Regions from separate parts of the Homo sapiens genome. Here regions 1 and 3 are each linked to region 2. The links are contacts of gene promoters, found by promoter capture Hi-C in blood cells and fetal thymus (Javierre and others, 2016). All regions are on one chromosome and are shown on one strand. Each heading gives the region's core, a stretch centred on a gene start or on the middle of the fragment in contact. The rest is flanking DNA. Distances are from core to core; before and after follow the strand shown.

Region 1 (3,562 bases), core at 72-2,571, 170 kb after region 2:
GGCCAACATGGTGAAACCCAATCTCTACTAAAAATACACACACACATAGCTGGGTGTGGTGGCGCGCACCTGTAATCCCACCTACTCTGGAGACTGAGGCAGGAGAATTGCCCGAACCTGGGAGGTTGAGGGTGCAGTGAGCGGAGATCGCGTCACTGCCTGGGCAACAGAGTGAGACTCTGTCTCAAAAAAAAAAAAAAAAAGAACTCACTATGGCAAGGATGGCACCAAGCCATGAGGGATCCACTCCCATGACCCAAGCACTTCCCATCAGGCCCCACCTCTGACCTGGGGATGACCTTTCCACATGAGATTTAGAGGGAACGGCCTCCAGACTACACCAGGTACCAATCTGTCCACCACCATGTCACACCAACATGTCCTCCATTTCCTTGGTGAATGCTTGACAGTATCTTTCAGTGCCAAATCTGCTCCTTGACAAAACCATAAAAGCCACAAAGTTAATGTCCTACTGCTGCCTGTCCCCTGCTCCTGAGATCCCTGCCCCGGGATCCTCCATGCTTATCGTCTCCTTTCTGACCGGGCACTTCTTGTCACAAGGCCAGGGCTGGCCAGCCTCGTGTAACCTCAGCTTCCTCTTCACCATGGTAGAGAGATAAAAGTCCCTGCTTTTAGACAGTGCACTTAGCCTGCTCAAAGGAACTGCTCCATAAACACTACTATTACTTACCATTAACTTACAACAAAAAATGAACCAGGCACTTGGTAAGGTGTTTGTATTTTACTCATCCCAGAGGAATTTGCACATTTAAATATCGTCTCTTTCCCTCCATCTTCTTCCCCAAGTTACCTTTCCTGAAAGTGGGATGATGTTTAAAACAAAGCGATGGAATTTGAGGGGTACAACCCCTACAGTTCTGTCCAAATTCACTTCTCTAAACTCATGTTCTCCCTCCACTCCACCCTAAACCCTGGCCTCCTGAGGCAACGAAGTTTGCCTATCTGGAACCATTTTCTGAAGCTGGATGGCAGACGGGGAGCCTCAAGAGGGAAGAAAAGAATGGCAAACTTTTCATTGGCCCAGTGGCCGGCCTCATAAATCATCATTCATAATTAGAATTATTTATTCCCAAATCACCATCCCAAGCCCCAGTTTCCCCTGTACCTAAAGCTCTTTTCACTTCTAGTTCAAGAGAGTCTTGCCCCCTCTCTGCGTCTCAAAAGTGATCTCTTCTCTTCCTCTAAACTCACCTGAAGCTTTCACCAAGTATGCTGGCCGGTTCTGCTTCCTACCCTATTGCCTACCAAAAGGAGATAATTCCAGCCCCTCTTTCTGAGATAGGGTGTTAATGAATCCTTACTGAGGCACAGACCTCTGGCCTCCTGCAGAGAGGTCCTCCTGGAAGTGCCCTGGGGACTCTGGAGACCTGGCCTCCCAGCAGCCACTCCCTCTGCTTTTAAGAGGAAGCTTTAGCCTGAGAAAGTTTGACTCCTTCCTGAAAGCTGCACTTATTTCAGCCAGGCTGGGCTCAGGTTTCAGGGCTCAGGGACTCTTTCTCTCCCTTTCTCCTTCCCAAGACTGAAATGCAGCTGCCCAGAAGTGCTGAGGAGGACACAGAGTCGGCTTCCTAGGCACAGGCCCAGCTCTGTCCCCTTTCCTTGTGCTGGGACCTTCAGTGGAGGGGAGGAGTCAGGGAGCCTCAGGGAGGCAAAGCAGGCCACACAGCGAGGGAAGCGGCTGGGGAGAGCTGACTCGCAGGAAATAGTTTCACCCCAGTGGTCCAGGCTGGGGTTCCCGGTAGCTCCTCCACCATTCTCCCCGCAACACCCAACCAGCTCTGCTTTTAAAAGGTGAACACAATCTTTCAGAAGCTGCAGCCCAAGCCCTTTCTGGCCCTGGCGAACCTTCCCCATTCCCCTCTTGCCAAACATTTTTATACCAAAATAATTAGATAATTAATAATCATGTCAAATACTGTGTTTCTGGCACTCCATACTTTTTAAGCTTTGGAATCTGTGTGTAATAGATCTAAATAGCAGCCCACAAACTTGGCCAGGCAACAAACATCCCATTCTTGATTGTCTTTAAACCAATGTAATTCTACTTCTGAGCCCCTACCCTCCTGAGTGGCAAGACATTTCAAGTCAGAATTACTGGGGTCTGGTTGGGCGCGGTGGCTCATGCCTGTAATCCCAGCACTTTAGGCGGCTGAGATGGGTGGATCACTTGAGGCCAGGAGTTTGAGACCAGCCTGGCCAACATGGTGAAACCCTGTCTCTATTAAAAATACAAACATTATCTGGTTATGGTGGTGCGTGCCTGTAATCCCAGCTACCCAGGAGGCTGAGGCAGAAGAATCGCTTGAACTTGGTGGGTGGAGGTTGCAGGAGCCAAGACTGTGCCACTGCACTCCAGCCTGGGCGACAGATTGAGACTCCATCTCAAAAAAAAAAAAAAAAAAAGAATTGCTGGCGGCTGGCATCCTTTCCCCCAACCCCAGGCTCACCCCAGGTCCAGAAGGTCTGAGCAAAGCTTGGAAAACAGGAAAGGACCACTATGTTGTGATCCCTGCAAGTTTCCTCAGTGCCTCTCCAGTTCTGTGCCATGGGACATGGACTTCTTTGCCAAGGCCAGCAGCCTCTGCCCAATGTCCCTTCCTCCTGTTTACCCCACCCCGTCCCCCTCAGGGTGTGGGAATGCATCTGACTGCTTGCTCCTGGGACTCACGGTGCTTTTTTCATTTCTAGTTCAGGAGAGCCTTGCCCACTCTCTGCTTCTCAAAAGTGGTCTCTTCCCTTCCCCTAAACTCACCATCTTTTTTGTTTGTTTGTTTGTTTCATTTCTGAGATGGGGTCTCCAGCCCAGGCTGAAGTGCAGTGGCATGATCTCCGCTCACTGCAACCTTCGCCTCCCAGGCATGGGCGACACTCCCACCTCAGCTTCGTGAGTAGCTAGGAACATAGGCATGCGCCGCCACGCCTGGCTAATTTTTTTTATTTTTTGGTAGAGATGGGGTTTCACCATGTCACCCAGGCTGGTCTCAAACTTCTGAGCTCAAGCAGTTTGCCCACCTCGGCTTCCCAAAGTGCTGAGATTACAGGCGTGACCCACCATACCCGGCCAAACTCACCTTCCTAATAGCCTGAAGCTTTCACCAAACATGCTGCCCCATTCTGCTTCCTATTCTGTCCAATGTCCCCGAAGTTTAGAGTTTTGAAACCTGGTGACCTGCTCAGAATGGGAGCTGGGGAGTGGAATTACACAGAGGGAGGCACCATGAATTAAACATCTCAGAAATGTATCCTGCCAAATGTGATTGCATTTTCGCACCACCCTGATAAAGTAGGTAGGACAAATATTAATATCCCCAAAAGGTAAATGAGGGAGCTACGTTATGAACTGACTTGGCAGTGAGTTTGTGGAAATACTAGAACACAAGTCCGGGCCTCCTACCTCTCAACGTAAGCTGCTGCTGCCAAAGCAAGCCTTTCTGAACTTTCCTGAAAGCTGCTGATAGCGCTCCAATGGCTGGTGTGTTTCAAGTGCTTATTGTGTGCAAGAAACTGAACTAAGCACTTTATGAGTAATAGTTTGATCAGT
Region 2 (3,798 bases), core at 735-3,234:
TTTTTTCTCTCACCTGCTTGTCAATCTACCCAAGTGGAAAAACTGGCTAGTAACTATTTGCAAGGTTTATGAGTATCCCGTAGGCCAACTCAGCTGAAAGACCATTGCTACCCCACTCATTCATCAAATGTTTGCTGATCACTCAGTCAAGTGTCACTACACTCCCAGGCTGCAACTCTGGCCCAGTCAGGACTCACTAGCTCCAGAGGCAGATGCACATGTGTGCAATTAAAAGAGCAAACACCTGGGCCAGGAAGGCAGGTGCTAAGACAGACCACAGGCAAATAGGCCACAGCACCCCTGTTTTTCCCATTTTATTAGCAGGCCAATTGCAGAGTTGATGGGCCTTCTCTTTAGTTTCTCTCCTGCTTCTTCTTCCCCATACCCTCCATCCTGGGCATCTCAGGCCTTGCAGACAGTTCTCTCCTCCCTCTCCTCTAACCCACACTACACCCTCTGCAGGATAAACTTCCTTCCTCGTCTGACTGCCTCCGCCCCGGATATCCTCTCCAAGGCAAAGAGTCATTCACTGGAAGACCGTGAGCAGGAGGAGGCTGGATTTAGGAAACAATGGGTAAAAGCTGCCCTCCAGCAGCTGAGGGCTGAGGACAGTCTCTCTCAAAAGAGGTAGCCAGAAACCAGCTGGAGAGTCAGGAGGCAGCAGTTGAGTGAGAGCAGTTGAGGGGAGGCTCAGTACCCATCCCCAAATCCCACCTGGGGAAAATCCCCAACATGCAGTCTGAGAGGACAGAGGGAGACAACCAGCACCTCCAGCCTCCTTAGCTTCTGGGAGGAAGGCAAGGGATGAGGGGAGGACAAGAAAGACAGTAACTGAGAGATCACTCCTGTGTTGGAGGTTCTGTGTAATATGCTCCCCAAGTAGCATCCCTGAAAGAAACTGAGACATTGAGAAGTTAAATAGTTTGTCCAAGGAAACCTGCGCGTTAAGTGGCAAATCCAAGAGTCAAAACTCTGCCTTCCAAACAATCCCACCAAGACTCCAAGCCACCTCTTCATGATATACTGATATACTTTCTACCAGGGCCCAGTGGATTTCCTCGGTGCCACTGTGATAGTATCCCAGCGTGGGGAGAGCCTGCCCATTCATTCACTCTCAGGGAGCAGCTGGTGGGTGGCTGGAGCCCAGGGCTCTAGGCAGAGCCTGAGCCCACTATTGCTCCAGCCGATTCCTGGGTCCTGGTTAGTTCACAACAGCACCAGAACCAGAAGCATGCAAAATATTCTCTAGTCTGTACCAGTAGATACAATACCTGCCTCAGAGGGCTGATTGTTAGCTAACACATTGTGATTTGCTTTAAATGTGCTCAATACCAGCCCCTTTATCACTTCCCAGCTTTCAAGGACTGAGGCCACAAAACACTGACTGCAGGCTCTTTCAGGTTTCAGTAACCATCACCACCTAGCACCAAGATTTGGAGTGGAGAGGTTTCCATGCAGTTATTTCACAAGAGGGAAAACTCACACCTGCGCTCAGGGACACAGATGTCCAAGGTCAGGCCCAGATGTTTGCCCCACCCCGCCCGCGGGCATTTTCTCCCCAGCAGGAGGGTGAGGGAGGGGGTGGCACGGATGCCCTCATCTCTCTGCCATACAATGAGCGTCAGTGGCGCGCAGAATCGCCGATTGTTCTGCCCGACTTGCAGGCGGTTGCGGGGAGCCGGGTCGCCCTGGGTCACGCACACGCGGAAGTCAACTGTGTCCAGGAAGCCCAGGAAGGCCCGGGATGGGGACGGACCTAGTGCCTCCAGAAAAGAGCAGCACTGCCCGGGCTAACTGCGGTCACTTCTCACAGTTCCCCGCCTGCGACAGCCCCGGGGCTGCGGCGGGGCTGGCAAGACCGGGAGGCGCTGAGTGCGTGCCCAGGCGCCCCTCCGCGGCGGGCAGAGCCGCGCGACTCAGGGCGCACTCACCTGGCAGCTGGCTCGGCGGCGCAGGGGCGGCAGGCGCTCTCGGAAGTGGCGGCTGGGTGCGCCCGGCCTGCGCGCCGTTTTGTTCCGCTCCGCGGAAGGCGTGTCCCGGGCCACGCCAACCAGTGGGCTTTGCACACTGCACCACTCCAGGGCTGATGTCATGGCGCGAAGCCCGGCGGTGCTGCCCTCCTAGGCCCCGGGAAGGCCGGCCGGCAGGGGCGGGGGCAGGAGTCGCCGACTCTGGGGGTGCTCCGAGCTCGTGCTGCGGTCCCACTGTGCGCCCTGTCGCCGCCACCGCGGAAAACGTCTTGCACGTGCGAGGGGCATTTCAGGAGTTTCCTGTCTGTCAGGTGAGAAGGCGGAGATATGACCTTAGAGGTCAGACCCATGATAAACTTGAGCCCCTAACGAAAGGGTGTCTCGAATTTACTTGTCCTGGTGGCAGAGGGTGAGGGACACATTTTGGGCGCCAGGGTAAGACAGACCCTTCCAGGGCAGGTCTGATTCTGCCCATCCACTCACTAGCTGGGCCCTGGGCCTAGACAGCCCTTCTGGGTTCAGGGTCATCTGTGAACGGCGTGTAATCTACAGGGATGTGAGGGGCTAAAAGGAGATCCGGTAGGACCCGCAGACCTTCAGCAGCACCCGGCATGTAATAGACACTCAATAAATGTAACTCCCCCCTCCAACAGCTCTTGCCCCTCAGTTTTTCCCAGTCTTCCCTGCTACCCTAAGGACAACACCTGGAAAAAGGTGTTCTCCCGCAAAAGCAGCAGTTCTGAAAAGTGGGTGCCTCCATAGAGGCTTTTCTCTGGGGCTCCAACCTTCAGTAGGACAGACACAGGCTCAGGCCACTCAAGCTGCCCCTGGGGCAGTTTCCAGGGGACATTCTGTCCACACCTCCTCACCCAGTCCCCAGCCCTTCCTGAGTGCCCCGTGCAGGCATTTCAGGGAGCAGAGAAGCTCACAGCCTCCAGCTGGTCACCCTACACCCCAGGTGGCCCATAGATGCAGCTGCTATGTCTTCCACCCTGGGCAGGTGTCAAGGGTTCAGGCCCCAACCGGCTTCACTTAAAGCCCTGGTTTGCTGAATCAACTTTTTGCCAGGAATAAAGTTAAGCATCTTATGATCTAGAAAATGAAGTATTTGGCCAGGCACTGTGGCTCACGCCTGTAATCCCAACACTTTGGGAGGCCGAGGCAGGCAGATTGCTTAAACCCAGGAGTTCGAGACCTGGTGAAACCCTGTTTCTACAAAAAAATTAAAAAAATTAGCCAGGCGTGGTGGTGTGTGCCTGTAATCCAAGCTACTCGAGAGGCTGAGGTGGAAGGATCACTTGAACTCAGGAGGCAGAGGTTGCAGTGAGCCAAGATTGCACCACTGCACTCCAGCCTGGGCGACAGAGCAAGAGTGTTTCTCAAAAAAAAAAGTGTTTATCTAGGTTTTTCTTGCTTTCTACCATAAGTAACATCTTTCCTTTGGCCAGGTCCATCCTATAAACAAGGCCCTCCAAGATTAAAATGTCTAGAAGCACACAACCAGTGTTTCTTGCAGATTGGGCCATCTTCATCTGACCCAACCAAGATGAAGGAGGAGAAACCAGAAGAATTTCTGGTCACGGCTGCACTGACTAAGCAATAGTTAAACAGGTCCATTAAACTGCAGAACCACCATCAGTGTCAGAGACCAAGGGCTTCCGCCCAAAGATGGCGATCCCATGGGATTTCCCCCTCTCCTTTCAATTCTCAGTATCTTGGAGAGATGAGCCTCGGAGTTTTGCCCAGGATTTTACAAAAGGGCAAACTCCTACATTACCTTCTTTGGTCTGGGTTTGTCCTCTCTGGAGTCATGGGACTGTTGATAGAT
Region 3 (3,508 bases), core at 730-3,229, 210 kb after region 2:
CAAGAACTGAGGATCTGAGCTAGAATCCCCCTCACCAAGCTTAAGTCTAGAGATGTCTAGAGATGTGTTTGGGGGAACTGAAAAAAAAAGAGAGAGCTGTGGAATAGGGGAAGAGGCAATTTTAGTACAAATAACTAAACAGGGGCAGGCCAGGAATAGAATTGAGGAACCCAGATGCTGAGTGCAGCCCTCACTCCCACACTAGTATATAACCATGGTGTAGGCTAACTACCCAAACCAGCTTCCCTGGAGATCCCCGCCACCCTCTTAGTATGGTTAGCATCATCCTCTTCCTCCCCTGTCTCATCCCATGGTCAAGGTCAGCTTGCTTTTATCAAGCACTTACTGCACAGGGCGCTGGACTGAGTTTTCTGATGAGAACTTCCTTGCTTTTTACTCACACATCCATCGTGGGTTTGCTCCTCTTTGATTCATTCTAGAGCACCAGCTCTAGGCCAGGTGCCATGCAAAGTGCTGAAATACCGTGGTGAGTGAGCAAGGCAGACAAAGTCGCACCATCACTACAGTCTCTGGCTTCGGGGCACATCGGTTTCTGTCCAAGGAGATGTGATGTCTAGGTCCACAGTAATTAGAAGCCGAAACAAGACACTGTATGAGGCAGAGCTGCAGAACACAAAGGGGTTCCTAAAGGGCTGCCAGAAGCAGGGTGCAGTGGCTCACGCCAGTAACCCCAGCACTGTGGGAGGCCGAGGTGGGAGGATTGCTTGAGTTCAGGAGTTCAAGACCAGCCTGGACAACATGGCAAAACCCCATCTCTATAAAAAATACAAAAATTAGCCAGATGTGCTCATGTGTGCCTGTCGTCCCTGCTACTTTGGGGCTGAGGCAGGAGGGTCACTTGAGCTCGGGAGGTCAAGGCTGCAGTGAGCCGTGTTTGCACCACTACACTCCAGCCTAGGCAACAGAGTGAGACCCTGTCTCAAAAATAAGTAAATAAGTAAAAAGAGTTGGCAGGGCCAGGAGGGGAGCCGCTGGGCATGGACACGGTCAGGAAGCCCTCCAGAGGGCCAGAAGCAGCTGCCACTGATTGCCCTGACTGGCCAGGGCCTCCCCCATCTTGCCCACAGGACTACTGCCAGGACCCCAGCACACTCAGTTTCAAGAGCGTTTGGATCCCTCAAGTTCTGCTGGTTAGAAAATAAGACCGTATTTTCTCAGGTCCAATAGAGACAACTTTGGAAATTTTTCTTCTTTTCAAGGAACTTGATAGAAACCAGAATGGAAAAATCAATGTCCCACTCCCATTCCAGCCCCCAAAGTGGCTAAGCAATGGATGTGTTCACAGAGCAGTGATTGCTTGGGCTCATGTAACTCATGTCCAGCCACAGATTGCCTCAGTTGCCCCAGCTTTCTTGGCCACCAAACCCCGTTTCGCTTACTTAGTCCTGTCTGGCTTAATTAGGATAAGTTATGGAGACCCTGCCTGAGGCTGATTTGGGCTGGCCCCACTGCTAGGCTAGATGGAATTATGGGTCTCAGCCTGAACCCAAGTCCAAGCCACCCCTTCAACCAGATTCCAGTTGTATTTCCTCTCTGCAGCCCGCCTGGCCCTATCTCCTTCCCTAGTCCCCCAGGTTCCCCTAGTCTCAGGCCATCCAGCACTCACCTGGGCATTGCTCCCTTGGCCTGGTCTAGCAGGGCCTGAGGCTTGAGACTCTGGACATTTGGCTTCACCCCCATGTCTGGTTCCCTGTGTCCTCTCCTTTGTCCAGTTAAGGCTGCTTCTATTCTCTGGGGAGGCTTATTTCCCCTGCTGCCCTAGGCCTGTGGCTTGGACCAGTCTTACTGGGGACCTGCCATACATCCCAGATTCCCAAAGCTTTTCCTATACTCTCTGCACTCTACTTCAGCTTTCCTATATATGATGTTTGGGAATCAGCTAGCCCTCAGCTAATTACTAGAAGAGAGGTGATGGACACACCATTAACAAAATGACCAAGGCCTTCTAAGCTCAAGTGACCAGTCTCTCCCACTTGCCTCCAGGTCTGTTGACCCCTTCCATATACCAGGCACTGTGTTCTGTCTGTACATATGTGATCCTTACAACTCTATAAGGTAGATGTTATGCCATTATCCCCATTGTACAGATGGGGAAACTGAAGCTTTAGTTATTTACTTTCCTTGGGCTCCTTTACTAACCAATACCAAAAAAGAATTCAAACCTAGGTCATATTACACAATCTAGGGTCTTAACAGTATACAGGATTTCTTCCCTAGCCACTTAATTAAGATCATTTCCTTTGTCAAACAGATAACGTATCACAAAGGTAACACACAACCAGAGGCCTCATGGAGGAGGTGGAGCTTGGGCAGGTGGGGAGGAGGTGACAGGGCCTGTGGGTGGAGGGGAGGCATTGCTGGGGTGCATGTGAGGGGACAGGGCACACGGCGGCTGTGCCAAGGACTAAGTAGTGCCTTCTGCTCTCCACCCAGCTCCCTGGAGATGACCTGCTACGACAGCGATGATGCCAACCCACGCAGCGTGTCCAGCCTCTCCAACCGCTCGTCCCCTCTGTCATGGCGCTATGGCCAGTCCAGTCCGCGGCTGCAGGCTGGTGACGCGCCCTCTGTGGGTGGGAGCTGCCGCTCGGAGGGGACGCCCGCCTGGTACATGCACGGCGAACGGGCCCACTACTCCCACACCATGCCCATGCGCAGCCCCAGCAAGCTCAGCCATATCTCCCGCCTGGAGCTGGTCGAATCCCTGGACTCGGATGAGGTGGACCTCAAGTCCGGCTACATGAGCGACAGTGACCTCATGGGCAAGACCATGACGGAGGATGATGACATCACTACCGGGTAAGCGCAGGGGCTTCTTGGATGGCGGGGGAGGATGGTGGAAAGACCACTGGGATGCGACGCCTTAAAAGTGGAGTGGAACCCAAAACGGGTTTTGGTTTGCTGTGCTGCTATGAAAGTACACAAAAGTGTGCTGTGTACACTTTGTGATTGCCTCTGAAATTCGATGTGGTTTATTCTAGACTTGGGTGTGGTGTAGGCAGGGCCTACATCCAAGGAGCTGATTGGTCAATGAAGGCGCCTCCCTCTCATTGGTCTCTGTGGCTGTCATTCTGTCACCCTCCTCCCTGGCTCTTTGCCCTCAATAAACTGGCTCAAAGAGCCTTGGAAAAGCATTTTATTCCCAGCTCTTATGCGAACTCTGTGTAGACCCTGGACAACTAAATCTGCTTTCCCATTTGCAAAAAAAAAAAAAACCAAAAAGGTTATTAACATCGTATCTGTCTACCTAAGAAGAGAAAATGAGAGCTTGTGGGTGAAATCGCTAGTCAAACAGTGAGTAGCAGCAGTAGCTCCACTTCCTTTGCCAGGGGTTCGTAACCCCTCAGTTCCCTATCCGACCCCTGTGGTCCTCAGTGTCTGCTCCTTGGGTTTCTTCCTGTGCAAACCTTCTACCAATCATGCAACTTCCTAATCCCTACCCAGCGTGTCAAATCCTTCTTTCCTGCCTTTTGCCCTGCAGGGACCC

What was found. The method cuts DNA at HindIII sites, captures the fragments that hold promoters and counts their contacts. A CHiCAGO score of 5 or more calls a contact.
Region 1: a contact is called between a fragment that was not itself captured here and the fragment with the promoter of CSRP1 in region 2, in 1 of 17 cell types (megakaryocytes). The highest score is 5.2, in megakaryocytes.
Region 3: a contact is called between a fragment that was not itself captured here and the fragment with the promoter of CSRP1 in region 2, in 2 of 17 cell types (monocytes and megakaryocytes). The highest score is 7.7, in monocytes.

The regions. Positions count from the first base shown.
Region 1 is chr1:201,674,846-201,678,407 of GRCh38, forward strand. All of the region lies in intron 5 of NAV1 (neuron navigator 1), which reads left to right. Among named protein-coding and RNA genes, the nearest start is that of MIR5191, 43 kb to the right of the region's middle. The HindIII fragment of the contact is 211 bases long and covers 1,217-1,427 here.
Region 2 is chr1:201,505,139-201,508,936 of GRCh38, forward strand. It overlaps CSRP1 (cysteine and glycine rich protein 1), which reads right to left and starts at 1,985. Exons shown (of 6, transcript NM_004078.3): 1 at 1,932-1,985. CSRP1-AS1 (CSRP1 antisense RNA 1) reads left to right here and starts at 2,075. Exons shown (of 2, transcript NR_160747.1): 1 at 2,075-2,281. RefSeq lists a silencer at 1,687-2,316. The HindIII fragment of the contact is 16,293 bases long and covers 1-3,798 here.
Region 3 is chr1:201,715,936-201,719,443 of GRCh38, forward strand. It overlaps NAV1 (neuron navigator 1), which reads left to right. Exons shown (of 34, transcript NM_001389617.1): 7 at 2,455-2,820. The region is part of intron 2 of IPO9-AS1 (IPO9 antisense RNA 1); the gene reads right to left. Among named protein-coding and RNA genes, the nearest start is that of MIR5191, 1.8 kb to the right of the region's middle. The HindIII fragment of the contact is 283 bases long and covers 1,839-2,121 here.